Regions from separate parts of the Homo sapiens genome. Here regions 2 and 3 are each linked to region 1. Evidence: promoter capture Hi-C in human tissues and cell types (Jung and others, 2019). All regions are on one chromosome and are shown on one strand. Each heading gives the region's core, a stretch centred on a gene start or on the middle of the fragment in contact. The rest is flanking DNA. Distances are from core to core; before and after follow the strand shown. Region 1 holds the start of DNASE2 (deoxyribonuclease 2, lysosomal). Region 2 overlaps NFIX (nuclear factor I X). Region 3 overlaps NFIX (nuclear factor I X).

Region 1 (2,700 bases), core at 165-2,664:
ATGGAGATTGCAGTGAGCTGAGATTGCACCACCGAACTCCAGCCTGGGTGATGGAGAGAGAGTGCCGCAAAAAAAAAAAAAAAAAAAAAAAGCCAGGCGTGGTGGGGGGTACCGGCAGGCCCAGTACTTGGGAGGCTGAGGTAGGAGGATCACCTGAGCCCTGGGAGGTCAAGGCTGCAGTGAGCTGTGATACTGCACTCCAGCCTAGGTGACTGGGTGAGACCTTGTCTAAAAGAAAATAAAATAGGGGAAATAGATGCCCAAGGTCTGACAGGGGAGATCTCCCACCCCACTATGGAGGTCAGGGGTTAGCTTGGAAAAATGCATAGGAACTCGGCTGGGCAGGGTGGCTCATTCCTGTAATCCCAGCACTTTGGGAGGCCAAGGCGGGTAGATCACTTGAGGTAGAAACCAGGAGTTCGAGACCAGCCTGGCCAACATGGTGAAACCTCGTCTGTACTAAAAATATGAAAATTAGCCTGGTGTGATGGTGCGCCTTTAATACCAGCTACTTGGGAGGCTGAGACAGGAGAATTGCTTCAACCCCAGAGGCAGAGATTGCAGTGAGCCAAGATTGTGCCACTGCACTCCAGCTTGGGTGACAGAGCGAACTCCCACCGTCTCAAAAACAAAGAAAAAAAAAAGTTGGGGGGAATAGATGCCCAGGGTCTGACAGTGCAGATCTCCCCGACCACCCCATGCACGTCAGGGGTTACCTTGGAAAAATGGGACCCGAGTCTCTCCCCAGCCCCCAATCCAGGCCTCACCCTTCGTGTGCCCACGCATGGAAGAGTCCTGAGCCTTGCTGGGTTGAGGCGGTTGGTCATTGTAGAGCAGGAAGGCGAGCTGCGGGCGGATAAACGGAGGCAACGTGAAATTCCTCCCAGGCAGGGCAGCCCTAGAGTTTCGCCCCTAGTTGGCCCGGGGCCCCCTTCACCTGGCTGGTGTTGCTCCGGTACAGCGGCTGCAGGCTTCGGCCCACGGCCCCCTCCGGGCTGTTGATGAGTGCCCTGCCGTCCCGCCAGCCTCCGGAGCTCTCGTCCAGATACTTGTACTGCAGCCCTCTCTGCGCCGCCTCCCCGGACCCTCTAAGAGCTGGCAGCTTGTAGACCACGAACCTGGAGGTCGGAGAATGCACAGAAATAGGAGAGAGGGAAGAGAAGGCACCCCAGGGTTCCCCGAGGAGGTAGCCATCCCGGTTGAGTGACCGCAGCCGGACCCCGGGGCGATGGTAGGCCCCCCGCTGCGCACTCACCAGTCTACAGGCTGCCCGGAGTCCCCGTAGCAGGTCAGGGCCCCGGCGGGGACGCACAGCAGCGCTGCCAGCAGCAGCGGGATCATAGCTGCTATGGGGCTGAGATCCAGGAATCTGTGTCGGGACTGCGGGGCGCTGGGTTACATCAGAGGCCAGGACTGGCACCTGGCGCCTTTCACTTCCCTAAACTTGCCTGGGAACCGGGGCGGGGACATCACGAGGGTACAGACTCCTCCCCCGAGACGCGATGCTGCGTTTTGGAGAGGCAAAAGGCAACGCTGAGTCTGCCCAGACCACGCCCACGACGGGCCCGGCGCTCCAGCGTCTCCTGGAGCCTGGCCACCGTTCCTTTTCGTGGTAGCTAATCCCAGCCCACGCTCTTCTGTCTGACCCAACTCCCGCCCGGGTTTCTGGATCAGGCACAAGTTTGTATTTTATTTTTTATTCCAGCCCTACAACCTGGGTCCAACTCTTGGGACCTTTGTTCTTCCTCTTTTTTTTTTTTTTTTTTTTTTTTTTTTTTTGAGACGGAGTTTCACTCTTGTCGCCCAGGCTGGAGTGCAATGGCACGATCTCGGTTCACTGCAACCTCCGCCTTCCTGATTAAAGCGATTATCCTGCCTCAGCCTCCCGAGTAGCTGGGATTACAGGCGCCCGACACCACGCCCGGCTAATTTTTGTAGTTTTAGTAGAGACGGGGTTTTTCCATGTTGACTAGGCTGGTCTCGAACTCCTGACCTCGTGATCCACCAGCCTCGGCCCCCGAAAGTGCCAAGATTGCAGAAGTGAGCCACTGCGCCCCTTAAGAAGCATTTGTGTTCCAGTGTATCTTCCCCTTTTTCTTTCTTTTTTTTTTTCCTTCCTTTTTTTTTTTTTTTTTTCCCGGACAATATCTCGCTCTGTTGCCCAGGCCGGAGTGCAGTGGCGCAATCTTGGCTCACTGCAACCTCTGCCTCCCCAGCTCAAGTGATCCTCTCACCTCAGCCTCCCGAGTAGCTGGGATCACGGGCACATGCCACTATGCCCAGCTAATTTTTGTAGTTTTTTTTTTGAAACACGGTTTCACCATGTGGCTCAGGCTGAACTCCTGAGCTCAAGGGATCCACCTGTCTTGCCTCCCAAAGTGCTGGGATTACAGGCATGTAATCCACGCCACCCAGACTCTCCTTTTTCATTCTGCACGTTTTCTCCAGGATCCCCTGAGCTAGCAAAGAGGTGACTGTATGTTTGTTTTTTGTCGTTTTGAGACAGGATAATGGTTTCTCACCCAGGCTAGAATGCAGTGACTCCATCACAGTTCACTGCAGCCTCAACCTACTGGGCTCAAGAGATCTTCCCAGGTAGCTGGTACTACAGGCCTGTGCCACCACACCCAGATAATTGTTCATTGCAGAGATGAGGGTCTCACTATGTTGCCCAGGCTGCTCTGGAACTCCGGGGTTCAA
Region 2 (2,700 bases), core at 164-2,663, 160 kb after region 1:
ATCTCAAAGTGAGACAGTGCTGACAGCAAGCCCTGCCAGGCAGTATGGTATTGGTGTGGATCCTTCATCTGTTATTTAAAAAAGAATGGAAAAATCATCAAATACCTATCCCTTATTGCCTACCAAAGAGTTTCTAAAAGGCAAAGCCTGCCTGTTTTCCCTGCCTTTCAGGTCACCTCTTCCCATATAGACCTGAACAGGCCACTGCGGCTCCTGGGGCTTCCTGAGCGTAGCAGTCCCAGGGTGAGAACTCACTTCCATAAAAGCCAGTTTCCCAGACCCAGTGACCAGGGCTGGACTCTGCCACCCAAAGAAGCTTCCCAAATGAAACAAATGAGGCAGGAGCAGGAGAGAGCCAAATCCTATTCTGGCACATGGAGTTTACAGAAATCTAGGTTCTAAGTGTTCTCATGTCATTTATAGAAGTTTCCGTTTAGCCCGGCATATGTGAAATGTAATCATGAAAGCATAGCAGACACTGTTTTTCACCTGCCTTTAGTGCCTGTTTAGTTTACTACCTGGCTGCAGTTGACTTGGCGCCCTCTGGCCTTGACCACATGCATAGCGTGGCCAACTGGGTCATCGTTTCTGCTGGCCTCGGACAGGGCCCACAGATGAAGGCCAGGATGGTGGTGGTGGCGCAGTGGTCTGGTCTGCACCAGAGATTTGGCCAGAGAGAGGGGATCAGCTGGGCTGTGGGCTACCCGTTGTGTGTGTCAGGCCCAACTTTTGAGTTTGGACTTGAGATTGAGGCAGCTAATAAGCGTGGATGGGGAGGAAGGGCCCAAGGGTCTACATGCAAGGTCCTGCCTGCTGTGCCAAAGGGGACTCTGTGGGGAACAGTGCTGGCTCCGAACACAAAGGCCATTGCTCCATGGAGCAATAATCCTCAGGATATTGCCAGCCCAAAAGATATGGCCAAGAGAGAGGCCTCTGCCCTGAGGACAATGGCCAGATTTCTCTCACTTATTTATGGTATCGTGGTTTACAAAGTGGGCCCAGCACACAAATCTCTGGGCATAGTTTCAAATACATGCATTTCTTTTAAATTAAACACCCCCCCCCACACACACACATACACGTGTGTGTGTGTGTGTAGGGTCTGTTCAAGCCCTGCTGCTGCCCAGGAGTGTTCCCAGCCACGTGGGACAGTAACTGAGGATGATGGTACTGAAGCCACTGTCTAATATTAGATTTTGTAACTCAGAGATTCATTAATATAATTACTCAGATGCCAGCCTGGCTTGGCAAGGCCTCTTGAATTGTGTTCCTCTTCAACAAAGTGCTCCGGCTGCAGAAATGCCCCTGGTGAGCCTGAGCTCTGCTACCTTGCCTGTGAATGGGGCAGAAGGCATGTGTTGGCCTCCTCACTGCACCCTGGGAGAGGCAGTGCATCCCCATGGTGGCAAGTCTTGCCTTTACATGTCTTGTCACGAAAACAGGGACCTTGGAGAGTCTGCTGCAGAGGGGAGCAATCTGCTGGGCGAGGCCCCGTTTCTATGCAAGTTGGCCCTGGGCTCAGCTGGGGGCCAGTTTATTTTGCTCCGTTGTGATACTTAGCATGCAGTTTTTAGTTTCTCTTAGGCTGGAATCTTGGAGCTGGGACTGTGTTTTATCCGCCTTTGCATCTGTCTCTCGCGCAGCTTATAGTTTTATACGCTCCATAAACCCATTTTGAATATTGAATTACCTTCAGATGGGAAGCAGCCCATGGCCCATCCTTGAGATGATGTAAAGGCTCACGATGGTATAAAAATCAGAAAGGGGGCTGATGAAGGAAGAGAGCCAAGATGGGAAAGTGGCAGGTGTGCTCTCTGAGTGGGCATTATGAGGGGAGAATCCTGACAGAGGAGGGGCAGTGGAAGCTTCCAGAATGCTGGAAGGAGTGTGGCAGGCAAGTGAGAAGCTGTGGGTTAATGGGTTCAAAGAGACTTGGTTTTTCAAAATACTTGTTTTTATTTTATGTGAATGAGCTCTCAGGAAAATGGGGAAGGAGCAGCCTTCTTCTCAGCCCCTTCCTTCACCCCTGCCCCCGCTGAGTACCTTGTTACAGGGGCTACTGCTTGGTGGGCTCAGCCCACCCCACCCTCTCATAGGCCTTTTCTTGGTCTCCTTGGCTGTCCCTGCTAAATAGTCATCTTTGGGGACATCCTCCCTTTTGGCCACAAAGCACACAGCCCCCCAGAGGCCATGTCCTCTCCAGACTTGGTCTGCGGAGCAGCCAAACTCACTCGTGACAGGGTCTCTTCCCGTGCCAGATCTTCCCTGCCACGCTAGCCTGGTGGATGCCCTGCGGCAGGGATTGGCAGGGATCAGTCCTGGGCCCACTGGGATTGCTTGCCTTTTGCTCTGAGGCTTTTCCTCGCCTCCCTCCCTCTCCTCAGGAGCCCTGGCCTCCAGGCTCCTTGTATGGACAGACTCATGGCTGCTATTCCTGCCCTCCATCTCCTGGAGACCCCTTCAGTCTGGGCCTCTCGGGTCAGAGATGACTGCCGTCCTCCAGCTGGTACATGTGCTTGCGGCTCTGGTAGCTGGGTTTGGTTATTAACAATGAATTATTAAAGGAATGTGAATAGGGAGGGAGGTTTGTCTTTCACACACTCGCGCACACACACAGCCACTTCTCGAAGCAGATCTTAAAGTTGATTCTGCTGCCGCTGCTGTACCTTTGCTTGCCTCGGATCTTAGAACTGTTTCCAG
Region 3 (2,700 bases), core at 172-2,671, 180 kb after region 1:
CGCCTGGCCTGGACGCCCATGGGCCTGTGCCTGTGCTCCTGGTTTTCTCAGCTCTCTGTATTCCAAGGCTGGGCTGGGCTGGGCAGGCCTTGGGCCTAGCACTCCCAGAGTCTAGGGGGACAAGCTCTATCCTCCCTTTTCCCTGTTGGCCCTCTCTCCCCCACCCCTGTTTCTAGTATGGTGACTGTCTTGAGACCGTTGGATGGCTATTGCACACCGATGTGGGGAGGGATATGCCTGTACAGGTGTCTGCCCAGGCTCTGCCATTATATTTGCAGAGAAACCTCTCTGTTGCTCTTTGTAGATGGTAGTGGGCCAGGCCCCAAGGGAGCCCCTCTGTTCACTGGCAGTGGTCCCTGGGTCAAGACACCAAAAACTGCAATCTAGGACACACTCACCATGTACTCAAGAGCGTGAGCTCCTGGGGAGGGGAGCTGAGGGTCAGCCACAGCTTCCCCCACCAGGGTGGGAGGTGGCATTTGAACAGAGTTGAGAAGGAGGAATAAGCATTCAGCAAATGGAGATGAAGGGAAATAGTAATCCAGGTGGAAGGACAGGCGACATTTATGTAGCCCCAACTATGAGCCAGGCCCTGAGCTAAGCACCTTATTATACATGTTTTCTCATTTATTCCTTACCCAGGAATGCTAATGGTAGGTGTTATCTCCCTTTTACAGATGAGGAAACAGTTCATAACTTGACCAAAGTCACAGGCTGGTAGGTTCTGGAGCACGGATGTGAATTGGGGGAGCCTTGGTATGCCGTTGCTGGCCACCCACCTCCTTCCTCCTCCTACCCTCCATTTCAGCATGCCCCCTTCGGCCCCTCTGTGCTGGGGCAAGGCCAGCTCACCCAGGATAGGGTATCCACAGTGGTAGAGCACTGTGTTGTACCCCCTCAGTGGACACAGGCTCCAGACCAAGGGCACCTCCCTGGGTAGGCCAAGGGCAGGCTCAGAGGACAGGGGAAGCAGACCCAGGCCAATGGCTCCTGCCCAAGATGTTTTTCTTTGCCTTCTTCCTTGCCTGATCTTTGCCTGTCATCTTCAATCTCTTCTGCTCTGATGGGAATTCCTACCCCAGGTATCTCTGAAACACCCCAGACAGTGCTGCTGCCATGCCCTGGGTCCACTTGTTCCCTCCATAGTCAGGTATCTGAGGTGCTAGGTTTGGTGCTGGGTCACCTTGCCATGGGCAGACACAGGAGGAGCCTGCAGGCCCACTCGCATGTCCCATTGCTGCTGTGGCTGGGGGTCTCATTTATTAACTGTTGGGCTGATCCTGGAGTGGCCATTGGCAGGTGGGCCTTTGTCCACCTGCTGGGTGCTCTGTTGTGCACCAGGGGCATATCCCTTCTCTCTCTCCTTTGCTGGCCACTGCCTGTCATCCCTTGGGGAAGAGCAACTGAGCATTCAGTTCCCCAGTGCCTCCTGGCTTCTTCTGCCGCTCCATGCCTGGGCCCATCTAAAGGAGTTCTCCCTGGGCTGGGGACGGCTGCTAATGAACGGGAGCCAAGCAGAGAACGCTGAGTAGCTCACACCAGAAGAACTCCCTGGAGGGCTCCGGGGCCACTTGCTGGGGATGGAAGGGAGGTGGGAGTTCTATTGTTTTCCTGGAGGAAAATTTTAAGCTTAGGAACACCTTTCTCATTATATGAGGGAGGCAGTGATGGGCTGTGTGGCTGGAAGGCTTCTGGCTATGAGTCTATCTCCACATGGGGAGTGGAGGCAACCAAGGACTGTAGGAGACAGGCCTTCTTCACCTCGACACCGTGTGGGGCCTGAGGCTTTCAGATGAAGTGTGAGACTGCTCTGCTGGTCTCCTGGGTACAAGATGAGCTGATGGACTTGCTTTCTCCTCGCTTCCCGAAGCCTTACTGCCGAGCTGTGAGTCCTGTAGTAGCCAGGCCTGGCACTTGCTCCAGGGGCACCCGTAGAGGCCGGGATGTGTTGGAATGGAGAAAGTAGTTCTTCCTGGGGTCAGGGGATGGAGAGGGGAATGTCCCATCCAGATGCTGGCCCTTCATCTGCCAGGTTCCTGTGCCTTCCCTACCCCCCCGCCCCCAACAATGGCTTTTCTTGAGCCTAGGCCCTAGGGGCAGCCAGAGCAGGCCTAGACCACATGTGGGTGTCACTCGGTTTCTTCCTCTTTCCTGTCACTTATCCCCTCTGCCATGTCCTCTTCCCCCATCTCCAGCAGGTCAGTCAAGTCAAAGGCAGAAGCCCCTTTGGATCTGTGAGCAGGGAGGGAATGAGGAAAGGGGAGAGGACGATAATGGGGTGACATGTTCCCCTGTCCTTATCCCTGCCCCCACCCACAGCTTGCGGGCTCTGCTTCTTGTTCAGGCTCCGGCTTTAAACCATGTGAGACTCTAGGGATGACAGAGGAGGGAAAAACCTGCCACCTCAGGATGACTCCAGGATGTGTGTGTGCATGTGTGTGTGTGTTTGTGCACATGTGTGTGTGCACATGCATGGTGGCTGGTGGAGCAGGGTGAGGAATGGAGAGAAGGAGAGGAAGATCCTAGAAGCCCCGTGGGCCCAGACCCTGGCCAAGCCTCATCCCCCGGCCCTCTGGCTGCCCTGCATTCTCAAGGACTTCCTTGGTCCCCTGAGTCTCCTGTCTGCTGAGACGGGGAGAACCCCTCTGTGACCCGTCCCCTTAGCCCCCCATCTATCCACCGTTCCCCTCCTCAGGGTGT

The links. Contacts are between HindIII fragments. The study calls those that stand out against the background at their distance.
Region 2: a contact is called between a fragment that was not itself captured here and the fragment with the promoter of DNASE2 in region 1, in 3 of the 25 tissues and cell types used here (dorsolateral prefrontal cortex, lymphoblastoid cells and spleen).
Region 3: a fragment that was not itself captured here is called in contact with the fragment with the promoter of DNASE2 in region 1 in 1 of the 25 tissues and cell types used here (lymphoblastoid cells).

The regions. Positions count from the first base shown.
Region 1 is chr19:12,880,035-12,882,734 of GRCh38, forward strand. It overlaps DNASE2 (deoxyribonuclease 2, lysosomal), which reads right to left and starts at 1,415. Exons shown (of 6, transcript NM_001375.3): 1 at 1,256-1,415; 2 at 938-1,118; 3 at 768-846. The coding sequence starts at 1,341. RefSeq lists enhancers at 946-1,573, 1,233-1,342 and cis regulatory regions at 1,237-1,797, 2,537-2,700. The HindIII fragment of the contact is 10,490 bases long and covers 281-2,700 here.
Region 2 is chr19:13,038,165-13,040,864 of GRCh38, forward strand. The region is part of intron 2 of NFIX (nuclear factor I X); the gene reads left to right. Among named protein-coding and RNA genes, the nearest start is that of NFIX-AS1, 24 kb to the left of the region's middle. The HindIII fragment of the contact is 3,683 bases long and covers 1-2,700 here.
Region 3 is chr19:13,064,303-13,067,002 of GRCh38, forward strand. All of the region lies in intron 2 of NFIX (nuclear factor I X), which reads left to right. Among named protein-coding and RNA genes, the nearest start is that of LYL1, 37 kb to the right of the region's middle. The HindIII fragment of the contact is 5,516 bases long and covers 1-2,700 here.